Regions from separate parts of the Homo sapiens genome. Here region 1 is linked to region 2. The links are contacts of gene promoters, found by promoter capture Hi-C in blood cells and fetal thymus (Javierre and others, 2016). All regions are on one chromosome and are shown on one strand. Each heading gives the region's core, a stretch centred on a gene start or on the middle of the fragment in contact. The rest is flanking DNA. Distances are from core to core; before and after follow the strand shown.

What was found. Contacts are between HindIII fragments. The CHiCAGO score rates a contact against its expected background, and 5 or more counts as called.
Region 1: a fragment that was not itself captured here is called in contact with the fragment with the promoter of AP4E1 in region 2 in 9 of 17 cell types (activated CD4 T cells, naive CD8 T cells, erythroblasts and 6 more); the score reaches 9.4 in activated CD4 T cells.

What each region holds. Positions count from the first base shown.
Region 1 is chr15:50,638,739-50,644,462 of GRCh38, reverse strand. TRPM7 (transient receptor potential cation channel subfamily M member 7) reads left to right here. Exons shown (of 39, transcript NM_017672.6): 5 at 910-1,123; 6 at 4,915-5,039. Among named protein-coding and RNA genes, the nearest start is that of TRPM7, 45 kb to the left of the region's middle. The HindIII fragment of the contact is 4,551 bases long and covers 2,163-5,724 here.
Region 2 is chr15:50,905,796-50,912,180 of GRCh38, reverse strand. It overlaps AP4E1 (adaptor related protein complex 4 subunit epsilon 1), which reads right to left and starts at 3,498. Exons shown (of 21, transcript NM_007347.5): 1 at 3,253-3,498; 2 at 32-103. The coding sequence starts at 3,402. RefSeq lists enhancers at 2,422-3,163, 3,210-3,379, 3,400-3,689, 3,164-3,905. The HindIII fragment of the contact is 3,809 bases long and covers 3,098-6,385 here.

The DNA of each region.
Region 1 (5,724 bases), core at 3,189-5,688, 270 kb after region 2:
GGAATGGGAAATACATCATTTTGCAAATAAGGTTTCTTAGAGATGATTTTTAAATGTCTCAATGTCTGAATACTTGAAGTTTCTTATGAGCTACTTCATATATGTGCTTTAGGCCAAGAGAATGAATTAATGTGAGTATAGCAAGTAAGTCTTATGATATCACTTAAACAGGAAGTTAATTTTTAAAATCTTTCAAACCAGAAGAAGTTATTTCACACACGATAGCTTTTTTTTCTATTTTTCTATAGAAAGATGTTTTCAAAAATTAAACTGGAGAATCCATCCGAACACCATGAAATGTTGATTACGATTTTCTGATTATTTCTCAGTCTGATCAAATCCAGTTATTTACAGTGAAGAAAATAATCATCTATATTAAATATATCTTTTTAAATTTTACTCCATAGTCACAATTCATTTATAAATGGACTAGATCATTGCCAAACTTTCATACAAATAATTCAGTATTTGCCTCTCTTCATAGCAAGAGCCTTAGAAGCCTCCATATTTTTCCCCCCTAATTCCTTTTTTTTCCTTTTCCGATCCTCTTCAGCCAGTCTTAATGTTTCTAACTCACTGTGTAGTCATAGTTAAAGAAGGCAATAAATACTGCAGGTACTTGGGTAAATTGGGTCAATGGTAATTGAGTTTAAACAGAAAGAGTAACATTTGTGTCTAAATGTTTAAAAGTTAGTTTCGCTATTTCTGTAGATCTCACAGAATGATTTTTTCAACTTTAAAATCATTTACTATTGCTTATTCCTTGGAGTATAAATATATTGAAAATAGCCTATGAAATCTCTTTTTACATAATCTGATTCATATAAAATTTTCCAAAGTCATATAATGTCACATTATGAAACCTGTGAACATGTTCAATTATTTTCTCCTTTTAAAATCTTTTTCTAGTATGTGAGGCTATCATATGACACCAAACCTGAAGTCATTCTGCAACTTCTGCTTAAAGAATGGCAAATGGAGTTACCCAAACTTGTTATCTCTGTACATGGGGGCATGCAGAAATTTGAGCTTCACCCACGAATCAAGCAGTTGCTTGGAAAAGGTCTTATTAAAGCTGCAGTTACAACTGGAGCCTGGATTTTAACTGGAGGAGTAAACACAGGTAATGTGATGATTATACCAATTTTATTTAGTGTGTTTTAATTTTTTTTTTTGAGACGGACTCTCACTCTGTTGCCAGGCTGGAGTGCAATGGCACAATCTCGGCTCACTGCAACCTCTGCCTCCCGGGCTCAAGCAATTCTCCTGCCTCAGCCTCCAGAGTAGCTGGGATTACAGGCCTGCGCCACCATGCCCGGTTAATTTTTGTATTTTTAGTAGAGACGAGGTTTCACCATATTGGTCAGGCTGGTCTCGAACTGCTGACCTCGTGATCCGCAAAATTATCCTCCCAAAATGCTGGGATTACAGGCATTAGCCACCACGCCCGGCCCTTAAATTTTTTTATAATAGCAATTAGATATTTGAAATACAGATCAACACTGAATATAGATATACTTAACTCTTGATAAATAATCTACAGTTTGTAGGTAAAAATGATAATCGAACCTGTTTGGTTATTATTTTGTCTTTAAAAAAAAAACGCAACACTTTAGAGCAGGATTTGGCAAACTATAGCCTGTGTGCCAAATCCAGCCCAAACCTTGAATAAAGATTTACTGGAACATTCACTTATTTACTGTATTAGTCTGTTTTCATACTGCTATAAAGAACTGCCCGAGACTTGGTAATTTATAAAGGAAAGAGGTTTAATTGACCCACAGTTCAGCATGACTAGGGAGCCTCAGGAAATTTATAATCATGGTGGAAGGTGAAGGGGAAGCAAGGCACCTTCTTACACAAAGTGGCAGGAAGGAGAAGTGCCACGCGAAGAGGGAAGAGCCCCTTATAAAGCCATCAGATCTTGGGAGAACTCAGTCACTATCACCAGAACAGCATTGGGGAAACCGCCCCCATGATTCAGTTACTTCCACCTGGTCTCTCCCGTAAAACCTGGGGATTATAGGGATTACAATTCAAGATCAGATTTGAGTGGGGATGCAAAGCTTAACCATATCAGTTTATATATTGTCTATGGCTATTTTTGTGCTGTAACAGCAGAGGTGAATAGTTGTGACAGAGATGGTATACCCTATAAAGCTTATACTGTTTAGCCTTTTAGAAAAAGGTTTTTGACCCTACTGTAGAGCAAAGCATTATTTCCATCACTTTCCTTCTAGTGGTAAATTGATACAAGAATGGCAATCCATTGCCTCAGCAGCAGTAAGAAGTAGCTTTCAAAAATTAATTTGTAACATACTACTGTCTTTTATTCTATATCTTCCCTATCACATATACAGGTTGAATATAAAGAGGGCAGATTACTTTCATTGTCTAAAATAAAACATTTAAGTCAGCTTGCAAACATCTAATTCATTATCAGCAACTTTTTTTTTTTTTTTTTTGAGACAGAGTCTTGCTGTCACCCAGGCTGGAGTGCAGTGGTGCCATCTCAGCTCACTGCAACCTCCACCTCCCGGGTTCAAGTGATTCTCATGTGTCAGCCTCCCAAGTAGCTGGGATTACAGGTGCCCGTCACCACACGTGGCTAAGTTTTGTATTTTTACTAGAGATGGGGTTTCACTATGTTGGTCAAGCTGGTCTTGAACTTCTGACCTCAGGTGATCCGCCCGCCTAGGCCTCCCAAAGTACTGGGGTTACAGGTGTGAGCCACTGCACCTGGCCAGCAGCTATTTTTTGAACCTCATTGTGTCAGAAGTTTTTGAGGCTGCTAAGAATTTATTCCATAAACAGTAAAAATATCTACCTTCATGGAACTTCTAGTGGGGGAGATAAAGATAAGAAACAGATAACTCAGTAATGTATAACGTGTTAGATGCTGATAAGTGTTATGCAGACACATGAAGTCAAGAAGAGGGATAGTGAGGGATGATGGAAGGGCTGCTATTTTGTTACATGGTCAAGGAGAGCTGATAAGGTGACAGTTGAGGAGAAATGGAAATGAGGAAGCAAGGTACAAGAAAAACATAAGGCAAAGCATGTAAAGGGGAGGAGATGGCTCGTGTGTTGGAAGAATAGTAAGAACAGTCTAATATAGCTTGAGTGGAATAAGCAGAGAGTGCTAGGTGATGAAGTCAGAAGTTCTGGTGTATGGTGGTAGAGAAGCATGGTGACTAGTAGAGGCAGTAGGCAGTTCATCGCATGAGGCCTTGGGGACCGTTATAAGCATTTTGGCTTCTGCTCTGAATGAGAAGAGGAGGTTTTAAGTAGAGAGTCAACAGCTGCAAAGATCACTCGGATGATGTTTTCAAAATGGAGTATAATGGCAAGGCAGCAGTTGAAAGACCTACGAAGATGCTATTTTCATAATTTGGGTGAGGGATGAGATGTGATGCATTATGGAGATCAAACTGAGTGATGCATTAGTTTGCCGGGGCTGCTGTAACCAAATATCACAGACTGGGTGGCTTAAAAACAGAAATTTATTTTCTCATGGTTTCCGAGATTAAAAGTCTAAGAGTAAGTGTCAGCAGATTTGGTTTATCTTGGGGCCTCTCTCTTTGGCTTGCACATGGTCATCTTCACACTGTGTCCTCCCTCTCATGGCCTCCTGTGTATAGGTATCCTTGGTGTTTCCTTTTGTATTCAGATTTCTTTATAAGAGCACCAGTTAGATTCAGGGCCACTCCAGAGGCCTTATTTTAAATTAATCGTCACATATTTAAAGGCCCTGCCTCCAAGTACAGTAATGTTTTAAGGTATTATCACATATATAAAGGCCCTGTCTCCAACTGCAGTCATATTTTATGGTATTGGGAGTTAGGGGACACAATTCAGCCCATAAGAAGTAATAATGGGCCAGGCATGGTGGTTCATGCCTATAATCCCAGCACTTTGGGAGGCTGAGGTGGGAGGATCACTTGAGCCCAGGAGTTCAAAACTAGCCTGGGCAACATGGTAAGACACTTTCTAAAAAAAAAAAAAAAAAGAAAAAAAAATTACCCCGGCATGGTGGTATGTGCCTACCCTCCTAGCTACTTGGGAGGCTGAGGTGGGAGGATCACTTGAGCCCGGGAGGTCAAGGCTGCAGTGAGCTAAGCCATGATCACACCACTGCACTCCAGCCTGGGCAATAGAGTGAGACCCTGACTCCCTCCCTCAAAAAAAAGAAGTGATAATGAGGAGTTATATGCTCTTTGGAACTGCCTTTTATACTTTTCTCTCTCATTTTTGACTGAAATAGACTTTTGTCATTGTTTATTGTGTGTGTGTGTGTTTTGCGTATGGTCCTGTGCCACCGATTAATTTTTTCTAAATGATGTGTAGAGCAATAATAAAAAACTACAGTTACTTAGAGGAGAAATGCAAAAACGGACTAGACCAAATAACATGGTAAAATTTAGTGTTATATGTGTTTTCTGGCATTTGTAGTGATTTGATATTGTGGGGTTTAGTGGTTTTTGTTCCTTTTTGGTCCTTGTGTATTCTTCTGTAGGTTTGGCTATGACCTTGTTTTAAGTTTGTTATGACCTTGTTGCCTTATATCTTGAAGGTGTGGAGAAATATATCACATATTATAGTGTTACAGATTTAGCACAGGATTGTTCTGAACACAGTAATGACTGTAATCCCAGAACTTTGGGAGGCTGAGGCATGAGCCCAAGAGTTCAAGACCCACCTGTCTCTACTGAAAAAAAAAAAAAAAAAATTAGCCGGCTGTCTTAGCACGCACCTGTAGTCCCACCTACTGGGGAGGCTCACAAGGGAGGATCGCTTGAGTCCAGGAGTTTGAGGCTGCAGTGAGCTGTCATTGCGCCACTGCTCTCTTTCCTGGGTGACCCTGTCTTTAAGAAAATAAAAAAAACAAAATGAATAAACTTTTTTTATGAACAGGTGTGGCAAAACATGTTGGAGATGCCCTCAAAGAACATGCTTCCAGATCATCTCGAAAGATTTGCACTATCGGAATAGCTCCATGGGGAGTGATTGAAAACAGAAATGATCTTGTTGGGAGAGATGTAAGAATTATTTTTAAAATTTCTTATGTTTGAAATTATATGTAAACAAAATTATAGTAAGAATAGTGCCAGTTTAAAATATTTATGATTATATTATACTTTTCAAATTAAGTTTAAAAGGTATTTTCCTGAGGTTTACTTCTGAATTTTTGGAAATGCATAAATATAAATAATTCATAACTATAAATAATTAAGTTCATAAATATAAATGCTGTTACAGTGTTGGCACATTTTGCTTTCAGTCTTTTATGTGTAAAATTATTTCACATTTTCCATATAAGCTAGTCTTTGTAATTAAATTTTTAATGACTACATGACATGAGAATTAATTTTATTCTCACTAAGACTAGGGAATAGGAGTTAAATGCTAGTGTTTTGTTTGAATAGGTTAAAGACATGTGAATTGGTTATAGATATTTATCAACACTGTTAAAAAGAATTACTGGCTGGGCGCAGTGGCTCACACCTGTAATCCCAGCACTTTGGAGGCTGAGGCGGGCTGATCACTGGAGATCAGGAGTTCACGACCAGCCTGGCCAACATGGTGAAACCCCGTCTCTACTAAAAATACAAAAATTAACTGGGTGTAGTGGCCTGTGCCTCCTAGCTACTTGGGAGGCTGAGGCGGGAGAATTGCTTGAAACTGGAAGGCAGAGGTTGCAGTGAGCTGAAATTGAGCCACTGC
Region 2 (6,385 bases), core at 2,249-4,748:
AAATGTGTTGGCACTGACTATGCAAACCTACCAGTGTTGTAGTAGGAGCAGAAACAGTCGCTTTCAGACTACTCAGTTCCTGCTGGATTAATTTTTCTTCTTCCTGAGAAAGTGAAAATATTTAAATGCTTGATTAACTGTCTTTTAAAACTGTAACAGCATTTATCTAAACGGAAAAATATAATTTACAATACTTTTAATTTAAAAGAAACATTATTTTAAAGGAGAGTTACAAATACTATCTGCTTACGATCTATCTAAAGGCATTTCTCCAAACCTCAGAACCATCCCTGGAGAGAATAAATATTTCCAGGCTAACCCATCCTTCCTCTTTTCTTTACTCAGTTACTTCCCCTTAATGGTAGAATAGCAGAAAATGTTTTTTTTTAAAACTAAAGGTGGAAGCCGGGCACAACAGCTCATGCCTGTAATCCCAGCACTTTGGGAGGCCAAGGCGAGTGAATCACTTGAGGTCAGCAGTTTGAGACCAGCCTGGCCAACATGGCAAAACCCCGTCCCTACTAAAAATACAAACATTAGCTGGGGGTCCTGTAATCCCAGATACTCGAGAGGCTGAGGCAGGGGCAGGAGAATCGCTTGAACCCGGGAAGTGAATGTTGCAGTGAGCCGAGATCGTACCACTGCACTCCAGCCTGGGTAACAGAGCAAGACTCCATCTAAAAAAAAAAAAAAAAAAAAAATTAAAGGTGGAGAGAGAGTAGAAATTCTCCATGTATTGGCCCAAGAAAAGAGTCTCATCTCACATCTTCCCCTTAGAAGTAAAAAGTCTTCATGGAATTAAGAAACAGGGTAAGAAAGCAGAAACAGAAATAGGTCTTTTTCCCTTAAACTACATTCTTCTTCCCTGTCTTTTCCTCATTCCCCAAATCCTTTCCATAACTTCCTATCTCAGACACATACCAATGTGGTCACTCCTACTGTCTGCATTGTATGTTATCTCCCTAAGCACTTAAAAAATTGGCCCCATTTTTTTTTGGCTAATATCATGCTACCTTTAAATTACACACTGAATTACATGTTCATCAGATGGCTATTCAAAAGCCACTAGTGACGTACTGATACACGTGGATGCCTATCTACAGTTTCAAACTGCTATTTAAGACCAAAAATAACTTTTTAAAAAATTTTATTGAGGATCCCTTAAAAATTAGCAAAGGACAAAAACCTTAAGAAAAACAACATTATTAAGGCCACAAATGGCCAGGCGTGGTGGCTCACGCCTGTAATCCCAGCACTTTGGGAGGCCAAGGCCAAGGCAGGTGGATTACCTGAGGTCAGGAGTTCAAGACCAGCCTGGCCAACATGGCGAAACCCTGTCTCTACTAAAAATATAAAAATTAGCCGGGTATGGTGACGTGTGCCTGTAATCCCAGCTACCAGGGAGGCTGAGGCAGAAGAATCACTTGAACCCAGGAAGCAGAAGTTGCAGTGAGCCAAGATTGCACCACTGCATTCCAGCCTGGGCGACAGAGTGAGACTCCATCTCAAAAACAAAACAAAACAAGACAAGCCCACAAGTAATGATTCTGGAATGTGAAGCAGGTTCTCTCCGGATAGCATCAACTTATTAGAGCTGCCAAAAAAATATTTTTTTTAAACCTTCAGAGCACTTTCTTTTCTGTCTTTCCTTCTCTTTTAGCACTTCTATTGCATTGTAGTCATGCTTATACTTGTCTTAAGCCCAAAACGAATGACTAATTCCTTGGGAAAAGGGAATGTGTTTAATTCTATTTTCCTGTGTCTAACACATAACCTTGTTCCATAAACATCTGTTGAACAAATAATGACATTAACACGTGCTCTTTTTAAGATATAAACTCCTTGTAGCTGTGAATCGGTATACTACACAATCCGTGCAACCATCGAGCGCCTGTGGGGGCCCGGCGCGGTGGCTCATGCCTGTAATCCCAGCACTTTGGGAGGCCGAAGTGAGCGAACACTTGAGGTCAGTTCAAGACCAGCCTGCCCAACATGGTGAAATCCTGTCTCTACTAAAAATACAAAAATTAGCCGGGCGTAGTGGCATACGCCTATAATCCCAGCTACTTGGGAGGCTGAGGCAGGAGAATCGCTTGAACCCGGGAGGCAGACGCTCCAGTGAGCCAAGATCGCACCATCGCACTCCAGCCTGGGCGACAGAGCGAGACTCCGTCATTAAAAATTTAAAAATTTTAAGGCCGGGCAGGGTAGCTCACGCACGTAATCCCAACACTTTGGGACGCCAAGGCGGGCGGATCGCGAGGTCAGGAGATCGAGACCATCCTCGCTAACACGGTGAAACCCCGTCTCTACGAAAAGTACAAAAAATTAGCCAGGCAGTGGCGGGCACTTGTAGTCCCAGCTACTCGGGAAGCTGAGGCAGGAGAATGGCGTGAACCCGGAAGGCGGAGCTTGTAGTGAGCCCAGATCGCGCCACTGCACTCCAGCCTGCGCGACAGAGCGAGACTCCGTCTCAAAAAAAAACAAAAATTAAAATTTTTAAAACCTTAAGGCTCCAGCGAGCCGAGATCGAGATCGCACCATTGCACTCCAGCCTGGGCGACAGAGAGAGACTCCGTCAATAAAAATTTAAAAATTTTAAAAGTTTAAGAATTTTTATAACTGCTCATTTTCAAAGCCCACTTGAGGCAGAGACTTAGCAAATTTTACATTTTGAGAGAACTGTGCTTTTTCTTTGCCCAACACGTTGTTGTAACCCAAGAACCTCAAGCTCCCCAAAGATATTCAACAAGAGGCTCACAGGATCTCTTCAGGTATGCGACATCTGAACTGTTGTTCAGTTGAAGGCACCGGGGGAGAGAAGGAAACTGAGTAGGGAAAAAAAACTTTGTGGAAGGTAAATAATGTCTGACACTTCCATCGCACTAGGTATTTTCACACGCTTGACATCTCACCCAATCCTCAAAACAAACAAAAAACCTATGAATTATGTATCAGTACTTTTCCACCACAACGTTGAGAAAACACACGGAGGCTCAGAGGTTACAGAGATGTGCCCCCGATCAAAGAGTCAGTGTCAGAACTAACTGTGGAAACTCGGCTTCCCTGCTGTCAGTCCCAGCAGGAAAGTGAAGCTTCCAGGCAGACGAAAGGACGAACCGACACAGCAGCCCCTGAGCCCCGCCGGAGGGCTAACCCCAGAGGCCCTGAAGTCTCGCCGCCCGGCCAGGGCCTCCTGGCGCGGGGGCCTCACTCCGATGTCCCTGAGCTCCCGGGCCGGCGGGCACCTACGTGCTTGGAGGTGAGGGCTGTGATGCCGCGGACAAGGCTGCCCAGCCTCGAGGAGAAGGACGCCTTGGCGGCCGCGGGCCCACCACCGGGCTGGTTCTGCAGAAAGAGTCCCGGCAGCGCCGTCAGCGTCTTCTCCACTATGTCGCTCATCGCCGCCGCCGCCCGCGATGCCGCCGCCGCCCGCGATCCCGTAGCCGCCCGGCTTCATGCCCGGCCGCCGCTGCCGGCCCGGCCTCCGTAGGCACTTCCTGTTTTTTGAATAAGAAATCTTTATTGGCGTCCCACCTGAACAAGTTCAGCGTCGTTCTCGCGAGAGGCCACCAGAGGGCGCAAGAGACCGCGGGGGTGGAAAAGGCCGCTCGCTCGAGATTGCGCGCGTAAGTAGACCTCCTTTCTCGCGACGGGGTAGCGGTTCCGGAATCCCCCAGAACCGTGAGTCCTCCTGAGGAAGCCGTCGGGGGCCTGGCCCTGTTAGGCACTGTCTCCCAGAGTCCCCCTTTCCCACTAGCCGCCTCCGCGTAGCCCGAGACCGCGTCAGGAGTTGCGTCTTCCTGGCTGCGCCTTTTTCGGGACGTCCCCGCGCCGTCCGCCGCCTCTCACTGTCCCCGGAGCGCGCGCCACCCGCCCGCTTCCCACAGGCGGTTTCACGCGGGTCCCCGGCGCCGCGCGCGGCTCCGGCCCTGGCGACTCTTGGGACACCCGAGTAGTTGCGTGATAGCGGGGCTGTCCTGAGGATTCGGCGTGCCAGGTTGAGAGCCCGTCGCGTGCCGGGGACTCGCGGCCACTGTCGCTTCCCGTCCGCCCCTCTTCTCCTGGGATTTGGGGAGGTGGGCGGGAAAGAGAACTGGTCGGCGGCCACCCTTGCCGACTCCTCCTCAGCAGGTCGCAGTTGAAAGGTCATCCTTCTAGAGCCCACTCCCCTGGCCCGGCGGGCAAGGATAGGTCTCCAAGTCCCACCCTCTCACAGCGCTCGGTTCTGTTCCACTTTAGAACAGGTCGCAGTTGCCACTACGTAAACAGCTCCCCATAGAGAGAGTATTTTATTCATTCCGATTGCTCCGTCTTTTATCTAGAACAGAGTCTGGTACAATGGCTCTCGAAATGTGGTCTGGTGACCTCAGGGTCGCTGAGACCCTTCTAGGGAATTCACAAAGTCAAAACAACATTGATAACGTTTCTTACGTGTTATTTGCCGTTTTTACCCTCATTCTGTTGGAAATGTACAGAGTTTTCAAGCGGCTAGATGACGATTGACTAGCTGGTAAAATGTATCCTGGAGTATCCTTGTGTTTTCTAGAATTTTCTAAGGTAGTAGGTTTAGGGCATAAATACGTGCGTTTTCAGAGATTAATGCAATTTGCTCTCAGTACTCCTAGTGTGTTTCTAGGAGGTAGGTTAGGTAGGTGGTGATAGCCTCCCTTCAAGGGGAACAAACTTGCTAAATAAATAGAACAAACCAGCCCATAGTGTACAAACCACATCCGAGGCTCCTGGTTAGAAAATTTTGCAGCAAAGAGGTACGAGAGCAGAAGGGAAAATCCCCAAACTCTCACAAGCGCAGAAACCCATGATCAGTGTCGTTGGGCTGAATTATACTCATTATAATAGTAAAAAAAAAAAAAAAAAAAAAACACCACTCCTGGGTGAAGATTTAAGATACTAATAAGACATGCAGTGTATGTACTAGCATATACAACCACAGCGCACATGGCGACAGAAAACCAGAGAACGTGCTTAATAGCAGCACCCGTTCTCCCCGCTTCATGAATGATCCTGTGAGACTCCTACAAAGGGAGTTTCCCCAGTGTCAGTGCATGCTGTCTCACCTTTGAGCAGCCCGCTCTGATCAGCTGTGAGGGTGTACTTTCGCTTTGCAATAAACTCTTTTGCTTGCTTTTACTTTGGACTTCAAAATTATTTTGCACCGCGAAGTCCAGAACCTCAACCGGCCCACCAGCTACAGCTACACTTACAAGCTATCTTCGGTTATACCTGCTCTAATCTCTGTAACCTCCTTGTCACCTAATAAATGAGTTTTTTTGAAATCCTGAAGTTGTTTTAATACCTATATGGGAACATAAGAAAAAAGTTCAATTTGTTGGCTTGTCTCGCAAGAATATTTTTTAATATATTGAGAACATTTTAAAATATTTAAACTTTATCTAAAAGGGATACTCATTTATTCATTTAATTTTTTTTTTTTCAGAGTCTCGCTCTATCACCCAGACTGGAATGCAGTGGCACAATCTGGGTTCACTGCAGCCTCCTCCCCCTGGGTTCAAGCAATTCTCCTGCCTCAGCCTCCCGAGTAGCTGGGATTACAGGCGCCCGCCACCATGCCCGGCTAATTTTTGTATTTTTAGTAAACACAGAGTTTCACCATTTTGGCCAGGCTGGTCTCGAACTCCTGACCTCAGGTGATCCGCCCACCTCAGCCTCCCAAAGTGCTGGGATTACAAGCGCGAGCCACTGCGCCCAGCCAGAAAGGGATACTCTTTTAGAATTTAATTTTGTTATTTTATTATTATTTTTTGAGATGGTGTCTCGCTCTGTTGCCCAGGATGGAGTGCAGTGGTGTGATCTCGGCCCACTGCAACCTCCGCCTCCCAGGTTCAAGCAGTTCTCCTGCCTCAGCCTCCCGAGTAGCTGGGATTACAGGTGCGTGCCACCACACCCGGCTAATTTTTTGTATTTTTAGTAGAGATGTGGTTTCACCACGTTGGCCAGGATGGCCTCGGTCTCCTGACCTCATGATCTGCCCGCCTCAGCCACTCAAAGTGCTGGGATTACAGGTGTGAGCCACCACGCCCTGCCTAGAATTTAATATTTTGTCGTCCGGGCGCGGTGGTTTATGCCTATATTCTAGCACTTTGGGAGGCCAAGGCGGGCAGATTGTCTGAGCTCAGGAGTTCCAGACCAACCTGGCCAACATGGTGAAACCCCGTCTCTACTAAAAATACAAAATATTCGGACAGGCACGGTGGCTCCCACCTGTAATCACAGCACTTTGGGAGGCCAAGGTGCACAGACCACAAGGTCAGGATATCAAGACCAGCCTGGCCAACCTATGACTCTACTAAAAAAATACAGAAATTAGCCGGGCATGGTGGCGTGCGCCCGTAATCCCAGCTAC